Linked DNA regions of Homo sapiens: region 2 is linked to region 1. The links are contacts of gene promoters, found by promoter capture Hi-C in human tissues and cell types (Jung and others, 2019). All regions are on one chromosome and are shown on one strand. Each heading gives the region's core, a stretch centred on a gene start or on the middle of the fragment in contact. The rest is flanking DNA. Distances are from core to core; before and after follow the strand shown. Region 1 holds the start of CATSPER4 (cation channel sperm associated 4). Region 2 overlaps CRYBG2 (crystallin beta-gamma domain containing 2).

What was found. Contacts are between HindIII fragments. The study calls those that stand out against the background at their distance.
Region 2: a fragment that was not itself captured here is called in contact with the fragment with the promoter of CATSPER4 in region 1 in 1 of the 25 tissues and cell types used here (mesenchymal stem cells).

The regions. Positions count from the first base shown.
Region 1 is chr1:26,189,128-26,196,417 of GRCh38, forward strand. It overlaps CATSPER4 (cation channel sperm associated 4), which reads left to right and starts at 1,475. Exons shown (of 10, transcript NM_198137.2): 1 at 1,475-1,713; 2 at 2,160-2,303; 3 at 4,660-4,761. The coding sequence starts at 1,501. It overlaps CNKSR1 (connector enhancer of kinase suppressor of Ras 1), which reads left to right. Exons shown (of 21, transcript NM_006314.3): 21 at 152-757. The coding sequence ends at 421. RefSeq lists an enhancer at 1,361-2,178. The HindIII fragment of the contact is 15,004 bases long and covers 1-7,290 here.
Region 2 is chr1:26,321,959-26,328,979 of GRCh38, forward strand. It overlaps CRYBG2 (crystallin beta-gamma domain containing 2), which reads right to left. Exons shown (of 20, transcript NM_001039775.4): 16 at 6,776-6,915; 17 at 6,251-6,374; 18 at 2,194-2,352; 19 at 206-365; 20 at 1-98. The coding sequence ends at 10. It also overlaps the pseudogene RPL34P4. Among named protein-coding and RNA genes, the nearest start is that of CD52, 7.5 kb to the left of the region's middle. RefSeq lists enhancers at 1-287, 6,804-7,021. The HindIII fragment of the contact is 4,294 bases long and covers 1-3,780 here.

The sequences.
Region 1 (7,290 bases), core at 225-2,724:
CGAGTGGGGATTTGAGTCTCACCTAGGCTCCTCGTGCCACGCTGGCCAGGTGCTGGCTTCCAGGCACCGGACCTCCGGAGTGAAGTCTGGCCTCGGGCTCTGCCCACTTCCCTGGGTGATCATGGTCCCTTAGCCCCTCCTCTCCACACAGGCAAAGCTGCAGGAGCTGCAGGTCCTAGAAGAAGTGCTGGGTGACCCTGAGCTGACAGGAGAGAAGTTCCGCCAGTGGAAGGAGCAGAACCGGGAGCTGTACTCAGAGGGCCTGGGGGCCTGGGGAGTGGCACAGGCTGAAGGCAGCTCCCACATCTTGACCTCTGACTCCACAGAACAGTCCCCCCACTCCCTGCCCTCTGACCCTGAAGAGCACTCCCATCTCTGCCCCCTGACCTCAGAGAGCAGCCTCCGACCTCCTGACCTCTGACCCTGGCCAGCACTCTAGCTCCTGACCTTTGACCCGAGGGCCACCTCAACCCCAGCTTCTGACGTGTCCAGGACAGAGCATCCCTGGATTCTGTTCAGGGTGGGAAGTAGTACTGCTAGTCATGGTCTCACCCCGAGCTGACCCCTCTGCCTGGGCTTTGTGCCACCCTCTCCCTTGCCAAAGAAGAAACTCTCCCCCCAAATCCTCCAACCTCTGGGGCCACAGCCCTGCCCCTCCAGTTCCTTGGCAGTTCTCCCCCAAACCAGGTCTGTACAGGTGTTCTTTATTTTACATGAGGGCTACTTTCCAACCAAATAAAGTCAATTTTTCTAAGAATGAGTCTACATGTAACTTTACTTCCATATTCGAATTGGAAATCTGCCCCCCTGTGGGGACTGGGGTGAGTGCTCTTGGCCAGAGGGTGGGTGGCAGACCCTTCGTGCAGCCCGTTGGCCTGGGCTCTGTACCCGAGCTCCAAGCCTGCCAGGATGGTGGGGGATGACCCATGGCTAATGAGGGCTCCGACTCATGTCCACCTCTCCCCAGCTCTTTGAAGGCTAATGGTGATCTCCTACCCCATTCCCGGGGGGCACACAATGAGAAACTTCCACTTTGTAGATGGGGAAATGCACTTTGCACGGAAAGGTGGTGGGGACAGTCCTGGAGACTGGGCTGGTAGGACAGGGCAGCTGGTGGGGAAGGGTGCAGGTTGAGGTCTGCCCTGGGAAGGCCCTGGGGAAAACACTTCTCTCCTTCACTCCTCATTCCAGCCTCACCTCCACCTCCTGGATCCAAGGCAGGGACATGTCCCTGTGACTCCATTCAGGCTGCACGGGAAATCTGACCTGCTCCCATCAGCCTCTGACTTCCAACCCCAGCCCAGCATCCCCACAGCATCCCCAGACTTCCTCTGTGGGATGCGGAGGAGGGCCAATGGGAGGAGCTTCTCTCCAGGTTGGAATTCCTCAGTAGAATGCAGACGGCTGGAGGTCACAGAGGCCTCTGTGATATCACCACGAGGGGGAGTGAGACCACTTGGAGTGAAGATTCTTTGAGGAGAAGGAAGAGACTGAGCAAACATGAGGGATAATGAAAAGGCCTGGTGGCAGCAATGGACCTCCCATACAGGCCTCGAGGGGTGGGGCGGGACTCAGGAGGACCGTATGGGGTTTGGAGGGGCAGTAGCTGCACTGAGGGGCCGCCCCTCTCCCCTGCAGAGTACCATTCACGAGTCCTACGGTCGGCCAGAGGAGCAAGTGCTCATCAACCGCCAGGAAATCACGAACAAAGCGGTAAGGATAGCTCTCGCCCCACAGTGGCCCCTTCTGCAGCTGTGCTCATGGGCAGCAGGCCCTCATGGTAACTCTGCCCCTCTACCCTCTAAACGCCCCCAGAAGACCCTCCCTAGCACTGATCCCTGAGTGACTGCCCATGATATGTTAGTAACTCTCTGGCAATGCCCCCCATAGGAACCCTTATATAACGATCATCTTCACTATCAGAGAGCCCAAAGAGATTCTCTGGCAATGACTTCCACAAAATCCCCCGATAGTAACCCACTTTTAGTGGCCATTTAGATAGTGATCTCTACACTGATGTCTCCATTCCATGATCCACTCTCAGATGATTTCCCCCCTCTAGAGTGGGCCCCAGGAACCCCCATTCTCTAAGAGCAAACCCCCAGGCAGAGGCTTCCTATGGTGACACCTGCCTGAAGGAAGGTCCTGCCCTCTTCCAGGACGCCTGGGACATGCAGGAGTTCATCACTCACATGTACATCAAGCAGCTGCTCCGACACCCCGCCTTCCAACTGCTGCTGGCCCTGCTGCTGGTGATCAATGCCATCACCATCGCTCTCCGTACCAACTCCTACCTGGACCAGGTGGGATGCCAGCATGACCTCTGCCCCACTAACCCTAATGGGGGGCCTGGGGCAAGAACTCTTCCGGCCTCAGGCTCCTCATCTGTCTATGATGGTTGGATTGGATGCTCTTCAAGGGTCTGTCAGCTCTGACCTTCTAGGAATCTGGAGATCAAGGAAGACTTCATGATGGAGAGGGCTCTGCAGCCTGGCTTTGAGGAATGCATTGGATTTGTACAGGAGGGACAGGAGAAGAATGGTGTGAGCAGAGGGAGGCAAATGGGTGCCTTGTGGAGAAGGGGTATCCAATTCTAACCAGCAGTCACTAAGGGAGAATCACTCAGTGCCAGGCACTGACTGTGCAGACTGCCAGGGTCCCAGGGATAATAAGCACAACTGGGTCCTGTCTCAGACACACAGAAACTGTCATTACAAGTGCTCAAGTAGCACCCAGAGTACATGGAGGCTCAACGAAGGCACTCGAACCTAATCTCAGGGGTCAGAGCTGGCTTCCTGGAGAAAGTGACACTGGAGCTGAGAGTAAAGAAGTAGGATGTGATCTCAGTCACCACAACAAAGAAACAGAAAAAAAGAGCACGTAGGAGTTGGCCAGGCAAAGAGAGGTGGGGGAGACTTTTTGGGGAAAAGAAACAGCATGTGAGAGACTTCTCTGTGTCCAACTTGAAGTTTAGTGTGACTTATCCTTGATGTTTTAATTTCTTTTTTTTTTTTTTTAGAGACAAGGTCTCACTCTGTCACCCAGGCTGGTGTGCAGTGGCGCCATCTTGGCTCAATGCAGCCTTGAACTCCTGGACTCAAGTGATCCTCCTGCCTCAGCCTCCCAAGTAGCTAGGACTACAGGCACGAGCTACCATGCCTAATTAAAAAAATGTTTTTGAGCCAGGCGCAGTGGTTCATGCCTGTAATCCCAACACTTTGGCAGGCCAAAGTGGGTGGATCACCTGAGGTCAGGAGTTCAAGACCAGCCTGGCCAACATGGTGAAACCCCGTCTCTATTAAAAATACAAAAATTAGCCAGGCATGGTGGTGGGCGCCTATAATCCCAGCCACTTGAGAGGCTGAGGCAGGATAATCGCTTGAAGCAGGGAGGCGGAGGTTGCGGTGAGCCGAGTTTGTGCCACTGCACTCCAGCCTGGGCGACAGAGCGAGACTCTATCTCAAAAAAAAAATTTTTTTTGTAGAGACAGGTTCTCGCTCTGTCGCCCAGGCTGGTCTGGAACTCCTGGGCTCAAGCAATCCTCCAGCCTTGGCCTCCCAAAGTGCTGAGATTATAGGTGTGAGCCACCATGCTGGGCTGAGGACTATTTAGAATGCTTTTTTGAATAATGGTGTGGATGTCCTATTGTCTCCAGTGGCCATATGTGACAGTGGGCCCTAAGGCACTGAGTCTGTTGCACTTTGGGGTAAAGCGCACTTTTGGGGAGGACACTTTGAGAGGTCAAGACAGGCAGATCACTTGAGGTCAAGGGTTCGAGACCAGCCTGACCAACGTGGTGAAACCCCATCTCTACAAAAATACAAAATTAGCCAGGCATGGTGCGCACGCCTATAATCCCAGCTACTTGGGAGGCTGACGTAGGAGAATCGCTTGAACCCAGGAGGCGGAGTTTGCAGTGAGCTGAGATGTCACATTAAAAAAAAAAAGAAAGAAAGGGAGGAGACACGGTGACTTGGGTGACTGCTAGGTGGAGTCGGGCACTATGGGGGCTGTTAGTGGGGTCGCAGCCATAAGGAAGCTGAAGGAGTTTCGAGGTTGAGAGAAAGTGAATTGGGCTCTGGACAGACCCCAGTCACCCATCTACCAATTCATCCATCCAGGGTGCATGTCCTGGACCCATGAGTGGCAGGATACCCAGGAGTTTGGTCAGGCCTAACTTGGAGTATTTGGAGAGCTGGAATAGCAGGAGAGGTTAGGACAGATGGAGCTTGGTGTTCTCCACCCTCAGAGGCCAGGCCTTTTCCTCCCAATCCTGGAGGCTGTTCTGCCTCTCCTACCTCCCTCTCCAAAATATCCCTATTCTAGAAGTTAGGGACAAAAGTTCATAGTCAGACAACCATCTTTATCAACTAGCTGTGCACACAGGCGCCACTCTGATTCCACTTCTGTAAGACGGGAATAAAACCTACTTTGCAGGACAACAGTGATGGTAACATGAAGTGATGTGTGATAGCCCCAGCACAGTGCCTGGCACGCACAGGCAAAGTGTGTTTTAAAGGAAGTGACAAGGTTGCTGAGGACCAAGAGCAGCAGTGATACGGGACTTCCCTCCCCTACATACATCCTCTCCCTGCCGGCTTGCCCAGGCCCTGCTCCACTGACCTCTCTGCCCCTCTTTTTTCTCTGTCTCCCATGTAGAAACACTATGAGTTGTTCTCTACCATAGATGACATTGTGCTGACCATCCTTCTTTGTGAGGTTCTCCTTGGCTGGCTCAATGGCTTCTGGATTTTCTGGAAGGTGAGATCCTGAGCCCTTTGCCCCTACTTCCCCCTGGGGACTGCACACCACCCAGTCTGCCCCTGTACTCCTGGCCCTACAAACTGAGGGTGTGAGTATGTGTGTGTGTGTAGACAGAGTGTGTTAGTTCAGAGATGTGTATGATGTGGCAGAAAGTAACTGGTACTAGAAGTGCAGCCTCCCTGGGCTCCAATTCCAATCCCTGCTCCAGCCTTCCCCAGCTCTGTAGTCTTGGACAAACCTGACTTCCTTGTCTGAGAAATGGGGCTGAAAGCATCTACCTTAATTTACAGAGATCAACAGGGATCAGCACACTTTTTCTGTAATGGACCAGATAATAAAGATTTTAAGCTTCATGGCTGTACAGCCTCTGTTACCATGACTCACCTCTGCCATGGCAGCACAAAAGCAACCATGGACCACACATAAATGAAGTGGGCATGGCTGTGTTCGTGGACACCCAAATTGGAATTTCATGTAATTTTCATGTGTTATAAAATCTGATTTTCCCTATTCACTTGCTTTACTCCTACTTACAAACTCATTCAGATGTCTTCTCTTCCAGGAAGTCTTCTTGTCTCTCCCAGGCTAGGTTAGGTGCTGCTTTGTGTCTCCATGATGCTATGCACTTATTTTTTTTGCATGGAGTTAAAATTTTCTGTTTATCCATCTTCCTCAAAATAGTCTGTGAGCCTAACAGGGCAGGCATCCTATATTCTCAGGAACTGGATCTGGGTATGGCACACAACAGGAGCTACATGCTGAATTGATATATGGATGGATCTGCAGACAGGCAGACTTGTATCTCCTTGTGTATGTGAAGGTGCAGACTCAGTACGAGAGGCCAGGAGGACTTGTGCTTACTGGACCCCCAATACATTGAAGAACTTTTTTTTTTCATTAAGTATAGTTTTCTTGCTGGCTGCAGTGGCTCATGCCTGTAATCCCAACACTTTGGGAGGCTGAGGTAAGAGGATCACTTGAGGCTAGGAGTTTGAGACAGACTGGCAACATGGTGAAACCTCGTCTCTACTAAAAATACAAAAACTAGCTGGGCGTGGTGGCGCGTGCCTGTAATCCCAGCTACTTAGAGGCCGAGGCAGGAGAACCACTTGAACCCGGGAGGCGGAGTTTGCAGTGAGCTGAGATTGCGCCACTGCACTCCAGCCTGGGCGACAGAGAGAGATTCTGTTTCAAAAAAAAAGTTTTCTTTTTGAATATTTAATGCAGATACATGCTGGTCAAAACTATGTTGAAAGGTACACACAGAATTCTTGCTTCTCTTTTGTCCCCTCATCCCTCTTCTCCCACCACTATCCTTTCTAGGTAATGTTTTTATATTTATAGTCTCTTTTTTATTGTCTTTGTCCATTTAGTGTTGCTATAAAGGAATACCCGAGGTTGAATAACTTATAAAGAAAGGAGTTGTATTTGGCTCCCAGTTCGGCAGGCTGTGTGAGAAGCATGGTGCCAACATCTGCTTCTGGTGAGGGCTTCAGGCTGCTTCCACTCATGGCAGAAGGTGAAGCATGTGCAGATCACATGGCGAGACAGGAAGAAAGAGAGAGAGTGAGAGGGGAGATGGGAGATGCCAGGCTCTTTTTTCTTTTTCTTTTTCTTTTTTTTTTTTGAGACGGAGTCTCGCTCTGTCGCCTGGGCTGGAGTGCAGTGGCGCGATCTCGGCTCACTGCAAGCTCTGCCTCCCCGGGTTCACACCATTCTTCTGCCTCAGCCTCCCGAGTAGCTGGGACTACAGGCGCCCGCCACCACGCCTGGCTAATTTTTTGTATTTTTAGTAGAGACGGGGGTCTCACCGTGTTAGCCAGGATGATCTTGATCTCCTGACCTCGTGATCCGCCCTCCTCAGCCTCCCAAAGTGCTGGGATTACAGGCATAAGCCACCGCGCCCGGCCTATGCCAGGCTCTTTTTAATAAGCAGCTCTTGAGGGAACTCATTCATTACCTTCAGGATGGCACCAAGCCATTCATGACCCAATACCTCCCATTAGGTCCCACCTCTAACACTGAACATCAGATTTCAACATGAGATTTGGAGGGGATAAACATTCAAACTATAGCAGCCTCACAGTATTTATTTTTACAATAATCAGCAAATATGTATATACCCTCGATCTTCCGTTTCCTAACAGTAACATAGTATAAACATTATTCTGCACTTACTTTTGTCACTGAATGGATCCTGACAATCTTTCTATATCAGTACATGGAGATCTTTCTCATTTTTCTTTCTTTTCCTTTTTTTTTTTTTTTTTCTTTAGAGATGAGGTCTTGCTATGTTTTCCAGGTTGGTCGCAAACTCTTGGCCTCAAGCAATCCTCTCCCGCCAGCCTCTCAAAGCACCAGGATTACAGGCAAGGGTCACCATACCTGGCCTCATTTTTCTTTTTATAGCTACATAGCTACATAGTATTCCATTGATTTAATGGAATTTAATGTGCCATAGTTTATCCAATCAGTCTCTTCTGATCATTTGACACGTTGGTTTTCTTTTCCTTTTTTTTTTTTTTT
Region 2 (7,021 bases), core at 384-2,883, 130 kb after region 1:
GGAAAAGTTTCAAAGCACGTGGATAGTCCAGATCTGGGATGCCCTGTCCTCATCCGGCTCCCATAGCACCACGTGGTCCCGGTCGTAGCCCCGGCCTCCTGGGGGTGGGATGGGGATTAAAAGATAGGGAGATAGTCAGAGAGAGCTGGGACTCCATGGCTCTCAGCCCCCTCAGGAGCCCTCTTCCCCATACATCCCACCTTACCCTTCACGTCCAGGATCTGGCCTTCGAACATCTGGCTGCAGATGTGGCCCGATTCACTGATGCTCCACGTCTGGCGCGGCAGGCGGCTCTCGGCCCACAGCACCACCTTGGAGCCTGGGCTAGGGGGTCCAATCACCTGTAGGCTCATGGTGGGGGCCATCTGAGGCCCCAGGAGGTCATCAGGCATTGTTCCTCCCCACAGGGACTCTACTGTACCCAAGAAACCCTTGACCCATCTGCTCTGAATCCTGGCTCTTAGGGACTGTGGCCCTGGGCAAGTCTCTTAATCCTCCTCAGCTTCAGTTTCCTCTCGGGGATGGGAATCCCCAAATGCTGGCTTTTGTGAGGGTTCAGTGTGAGAAAACATAAAAGGGCTGGAAAAATATTAACTCCTCCAGGAATCCTTCCATGATTGGCTTCCAAAGCATAGGCTTTAGCATCAGACAAATCTCTACACATTTACTAGCTGTGTGACTTTCAGCAAATTACCTAACCTCTCTATGCTCTGGTTTCCTCACCTGTAAAATGGGGAGTATAAAAAGACCTGCCCCACGGTACTCTAGACTAAAGATTATAGGAGGCATTTGTGTGAAGAACTCAATGCAGAGCCTGGCATGTGGTCAGCCATCTCTCTCATTCTAAGTAAAAGACAAAACCTCTCAATGGCCTACAAAGACCTACAGTCCTTATAACCTTTCTGGCCTCATCTCCTGCTACCTCCCCCTTACTCAACTCACTCTAGCCACCCAGCTAGCCTTGCTAGCCCAGAAAAATCCCAGGCATGTTCCTTCCTCAGGGCCTTTGCACTGGCTGTTCCCTCTGCCTGGAACACTCTTCCCTCAGATATCTGCATGGCTGCCTCCCTCAAATGTCATCTTCTTCGGAAAGGCTCCCCTACCATACCTGATACTTTCTATTCTCCTTTTTTTTTTTTTGAGACAGAGTCTCCCTCTGTTGCCCAGGCTGGTGTGCAGTGGTGTGATCATAGCTTACCGCAGCCTCAATCTCCTGGGCTCACGTAATCCTCCCACCTCGGCCTCCTGAGTAGCTGGGACTACAGGTGCATGCCACCACATCCGGCTAGTTTTTTTATTTTTTGTGGAGATGGCATCTCATTATGCTGCCCAGGCTGGTCTTGAATTCCTGAGCTCAAGAGATCCTCCTGCCTCACTCAGCCTCTCAAAGTGCTGTGATTACAGGAGTGAGCCACTGCACCTGGCCTATTCCCCTTTCATGATTTATCTTCCTCTATTGAACTTTCATCCTGTAAGACACTAAGATATTCTGCCCATTTAAGTTATTTCTGTCTATCTCTCCCCACTAGGATGTAAGCTTCAGGACGGCAGGTGTCAATTCTGTCTATAACTGCTGTATCCCCAGCATCTAGAACAGAGCCTGGCACATAGTAGGTGCTCAAGAAATGTCTGTGGAGTAAATCTACCTTTTCTCTTATTTTTATTTTTGTTTTTTTTTGAGACCAGGTCTTGTGCTGTCACCAAGGCTGGAGTGCAGTGGCGCAATCCTCACTCACTGCAGCCTCTAACTCCTGGGCTCAAGCCTCCCACCTCAGCCTCTTGAGTACCTGAGACTACAGGCATGCACCACCACACCCAGTTAATTTTTTGTTTGGCCTCAAACTCCTGTCCTCAAGCAATCCTCCTGCCTCGGCCTTCCAAAGTGTTGGGATTATAGGCATGAGCCACCATGCCTGGCCAAATCTACCATTATTAATAGGGTTCAAGTTCTGTCATGGGCATTAGAGCTGGGAGGTCCCTTAGAAGCACCCAGTTCATTGCTCTTGTTTTTACAGACTGGGGCCCAGAGAAGAGCACGACTTGCCCAGGGGGAACAGTCTGCACTCTCCCTCTCCCCAGGGTCCTGGCTTCTGTGTGCATCCCTCTGTGTTCCTGATTGGGCTGGGACTCCCCAGAGTGGACCTGCAAATGCCTAGGGCCAGGGTGTCCCTGTGCCAGCCCCTGTATCAGTACCTGGTTCTTCAGCAGCCCATCCTCGTAGTACCAGATGCAGCTACCTCCAGCTTGGGGGTCGGCGACCACCACACGGCCTGCTTTCATGTCCTCCACATGGTCCGGCACTGCCAGGAATCCCCCCAGTGCTGCATTCCAGAGGCGGAAATAAACCCGGCGCTGGTGGCAGAAAGAGGCTGAGAGTCAGGGGTGCCGGGGAGGGATGACCTGGGCCCCCAGTACCCTCAACTCTGGACTCTCCAGTATCAGGCTCCCAAGCCCTCCCTCCTGTCCCCAAACCTTCCTTGACTCTATTTCTAAGTCACTGCTTCTTTACACACACATACGGAGAGCACATGTATCTCTCTCTCTCTCACACACACACACACACACACACACACACACAGTTCCATGGTCATAGAGGTACCCACAGATGTGTGCAGAGGGACAAACTGACAGATACACCTCTGGTACACATGATGGCACAGAAGTTCACAGAAGACACAAACACATGGATACATGCAGCCATCCAACTCACATGTTCTAACCATAGATCCATGCAGTCTACTCCATACCAGGCAGTTCTGCTTGCTAAAAGCGTGGATGTGTGTGGGCATACAGATGTGCACACACACTTACAGAAAGAAATGCACACACACCTGTGTTGAAGAGGGTTCCTGACGGGATGGACACTGGACTGTCAGACATCAGACATGGCTCTGCCATAAATCAGCTGGAGCTCTTAGATGGTAGCAAAAGTAATAATAGTAATAACAATAATCACAGCTAACGTTTGTTGAGAGCTGACTCACTCAAGCACTGTTCTAATAATGTTTTACCTACATTATCTTCAGTCCTCAAAACTGACCCATGACACGTGTTATCCTCATTTTAAAGATGAGGAAACGAAGGTCTAAGGAGGTACAGTACTTGCCCAAGATTGCAGAGCAAATCCGTGTCCACTTCTCTGGGCCTTTATTTCCCCATCTGTAAAATGTGAGGGGTGGAGATAATCTCCAAGATTTCTCCCAGCAATGATGTTATGAGTCTTGAATACAAGAACTACACAAATATCCTTATACAAAGATACACACACTGTCAATGGTGTCACAAGTACAAGCATGCGCAGTCATAAATGCAATCCCGGCCGGGCGCGGAGGCTCACGCCTGTAATCCCAGCACTTTGGGAGGCCAAGGCGGGTGGATCACCTGAGGTCAGGAGTTCGAGGTCAGCCTGGCCAACATGGCAAAACCCTGTCTGTACCAAAAATACAAAAAAATTAGCCAGGTGTGGTGGCACACGCCTGTAATCACAGCTACTCGGGAGGCTGAGGCAGGAGAATCGCTTGAACCCGGGAGATGTAGGTTGCAGTGAGCCGAGATCACACCACTGCACTCCAGCCTGGGTGACAGAGTAGGACTCCATCTCAAAAATAAATTAATTAATAAAAATTAAAAAAATGAATGCACTCCCACAGATACACACACACACACACACACACACACACAGGTCATCACCAGAGCACACAGATGCATGGACACAAATAACCTGATGAGCACAGAAATACCCTCAGATGGGAACATGCATGCACACACACATACACACAGAGCCCATGGCCTTACCATTTATCTGCACATGTGCATTAATGATACTGATGTTCAGACATGCAGGCACGGACATACAGAAACACATATGCAGGCAGTGCTTCCCCAAGTGAGGTATGCTTACTACCAGTGGGTGGTCCATGAGATCACTTTCAGTCCTATGTGGCTAAACTATTTTTTTTTTGAGACAGGGTCTCGCTCTGTCACCCACGCTGGAGTACCAGTGGAGCCATCATGGCTCACTGTAGCCTCAAACTCCTGGGCTCAGGTGATCCTCCCGAGTAGCTGGGACTATAGCACAAGCCATCACACCTAGCTCATTTCTTTTGTATTTTTTGTAGAGATGGGGTCTCGCCATGTTGCCCAGGCTGGTCTCGAACTCCTGGGCTCAAGCAACCCTCCCTCCTCGGCCTCCCAAAGTGATGAAATTACAGGAGTGAGCCACCGCACCCAGCCTATAAACTCATTTTTGAAAAATTAATGGCAATGTATTTATTACATCTATTAAGAAAAAAAATCAGGCTGGGCATGGTAGCTCACACCTGTAAACCCAGCACTTTGGGAGGCTGAGACGGGCGGATCATGAGGTCAGGAGATCGAGACCATCCTGGCTAACATGGTGAAACCCCATCTCTACTAAAAATACAAAAAAATTAGCCGGGCATGGTGGCGGGTGCCTGTAGTCCCAGCTACTCAGGAGGCTGAGGCAGGAGAATGGCATGAACCCGGGAGGCAGAGCTTGCAGTGAGCCGAGATCATGCCACTGCACTCCTGCCTGGGCGACAGAGCAAGAAGACTCTGTCTCAAAAAAAAAAAAAAAGAAAGAAAATCATATGTACACATCAAACTCATGACTTTATGGATATTATTCCTTAGGACAAGGATAAAGTTAAAAAAAATGTGATTTTTTTCTTTTTCCTCTTCTGGGGATATTGTCTAGAGGCACTGAGAATGTTCCAGCATTTGACATATTGTCATAGGCTTTCCTACGGTACAGCCTCTAACAAAACTAGGCTGTCCTGAGCCCCTCGTAATAGAATTGTTGACCTCTATACCTACAAAGTTGGGAAAGCACCAAAATCTGCATGTGGCGTGTGCCCAGGCAGACTTCAAGGGGTTCATGTTGTGAGGTCTAAAGTTCTTATGAGATTGTCCAAAACAAAAAACATGTCAGGAGGGCCTATGGTGGTTCCAGGTATGCTAAATGTGTTCGTGGCAGGATCAAGCCTGCTTTCCTTATGCAGCAGCTAAAAATCCTTATGAAAGTGTTGAAGGCACAAGCACAGACTCAGAAAGCTAAATAAAAACTGGGCTGGGGCTGGGCACAGTGGTTCATGCCTGTAATCCCAACACTTTGGGAGGCCAAGGTGGGCAGATCACATGAGGTCAGGAGTTCAAGACCAGCCTGGCCAACATGATGAAACCCCATCTCTACTAAAAATACAAAAATTAGCTAGGCGCAGTGGCTCATGCCTGTAATCCCAGCACTCTGGGAGGCCGAAGTGGGCAGATCACAAGTCAGGCGTTCGAGACCAACCTGGCCAATTACAGTGAAACCTCGTCTCTACTAAAAATACAAAAAATTAGCCGGGTGTGGTGGCAGGCACCTGTAATCCCAGCTACTTGGGAGTCTGACGCAGGAGAATTGCTTGAACCCAGGGGGCAGAGGTTGCAGTGAGCCGAGATCACGCCATTGCACTTCAGCCCAGGTGACAGTGCGAGATTCCGTCTCAAAAAACAAAAAACAAAAAAAAAAACCAAAAATTAGCCAGATGTGGTGGCACATACTTGTAATCCCAGCTACTTCGGAGGATGAGGTAGGAGAATCACTTGAATCTGGGAAGCGGAGGTTGCAGTGAGCCGAGATCGTGCCATTGCACTCCAACCTGGGCAACAAGACCAAAACTCCATCTCAAAAAAAAAAAAAAGGGCTGGGCATGGTGGCTCACGTCTGTAATCCCAGCACTTTGGGAGGCCGAGGCAGGTGGATCACTTGAGGTCAGGAATTGGAGACCAGTCTGGCCAACATGGTGAAACCCTGCCTCTACTAAAAATACAAAAATTAGCTGAGCGTGGTAGCACGTGCCTGTGGTCCCAGTTACTTGGGAGGCTGAGGCACAAGAAGCACTTAAACCCGGGAGGTGGAGGCTGCAGTGAGCCAGGATGTTGCCACTGCGCTCCAGCCTTTGTGGCAGAGCAAGACTCTGTCACACAAAAAAAAAAAAGAAAAAGAAAGAGAAAAAAAAGCTTTTTTTAAGAAATAAAAATTAATTAAAAGACTTTTAAAAAGAGAGTTAATCTAGAGAAAAATATTAAGTAGACAATGGCTCAAGAGGAATGACGATGTGGCAAAAGTTGTGACAAAAGTACACAAATGCTGTGTTTGGGAAACACACAGCTAGACACTCATCCAGAAAGGCCTGCCCAGACACGCTCAGCCCCAGACACGCTCAGCTCCAGCCACGCTACCCACCTGCTTGATGGGGTAGAGGGAGCCCACCCTCTGGGTGCCGCTGTAGGTCAGCCAGTTGGTGATCTCGCAGCTTCCCACCAGCCACTGGCGGCCCCGGAAGTCACTGTGTTCACATAGCACCCAACTGGGCCCAGCAGGTGTCAGGGACACAGAGAAGAGCACAGACACACAGACAGACAGACAGGTGGAGGAGGAGACACAGACGTCAAAACGTTCTCCACCTCCTCTTCTCCCATGGAGGGATTCCTCTGCCTGGAATAGGGTTCCCAGGGCGGAGAGGGAGGCTGGGAAGTAGATTTGGGGTTTTCAGGGTAAAGAAGGATCCTGAGAAGCCCACCAAGCTGGGGTCTAAGCCCTGAGAGCCAGTGACCCTTCTCAGTCCGCACTTCTCCCTCCTTCCTGGCTTGGAGGGGAGTGGGGGAAAAGTGGGGAGGGGAAAGAGGCCAGAGACCCCCAGGATCTCTGTCTTGCCATGACTCATCCCCACCAGCAGCCACCGCACCCATGCCTCCCCTCAGCACTCACATGCCCCCCTTGATCCGCACAGACAGCACATGGTTGTTGAAGCCCTCGGCTTGCAGGCTCCGCACCTCCCTGCTGAGCTCGATCTCCTTCCCCTCGAAGCACTCGAGTCCATACAGGAAAATGGAAGGCTCTGAAAAGTGCTGGGGCCCAGGAGACAGAAGAGGGTGAGGCTCTGAGAGCCCAAGTCCCAGACGCAGCCCCACAATCCCAGACACCCTGACTCCCAGATCTGTATGTCAGGCCTTC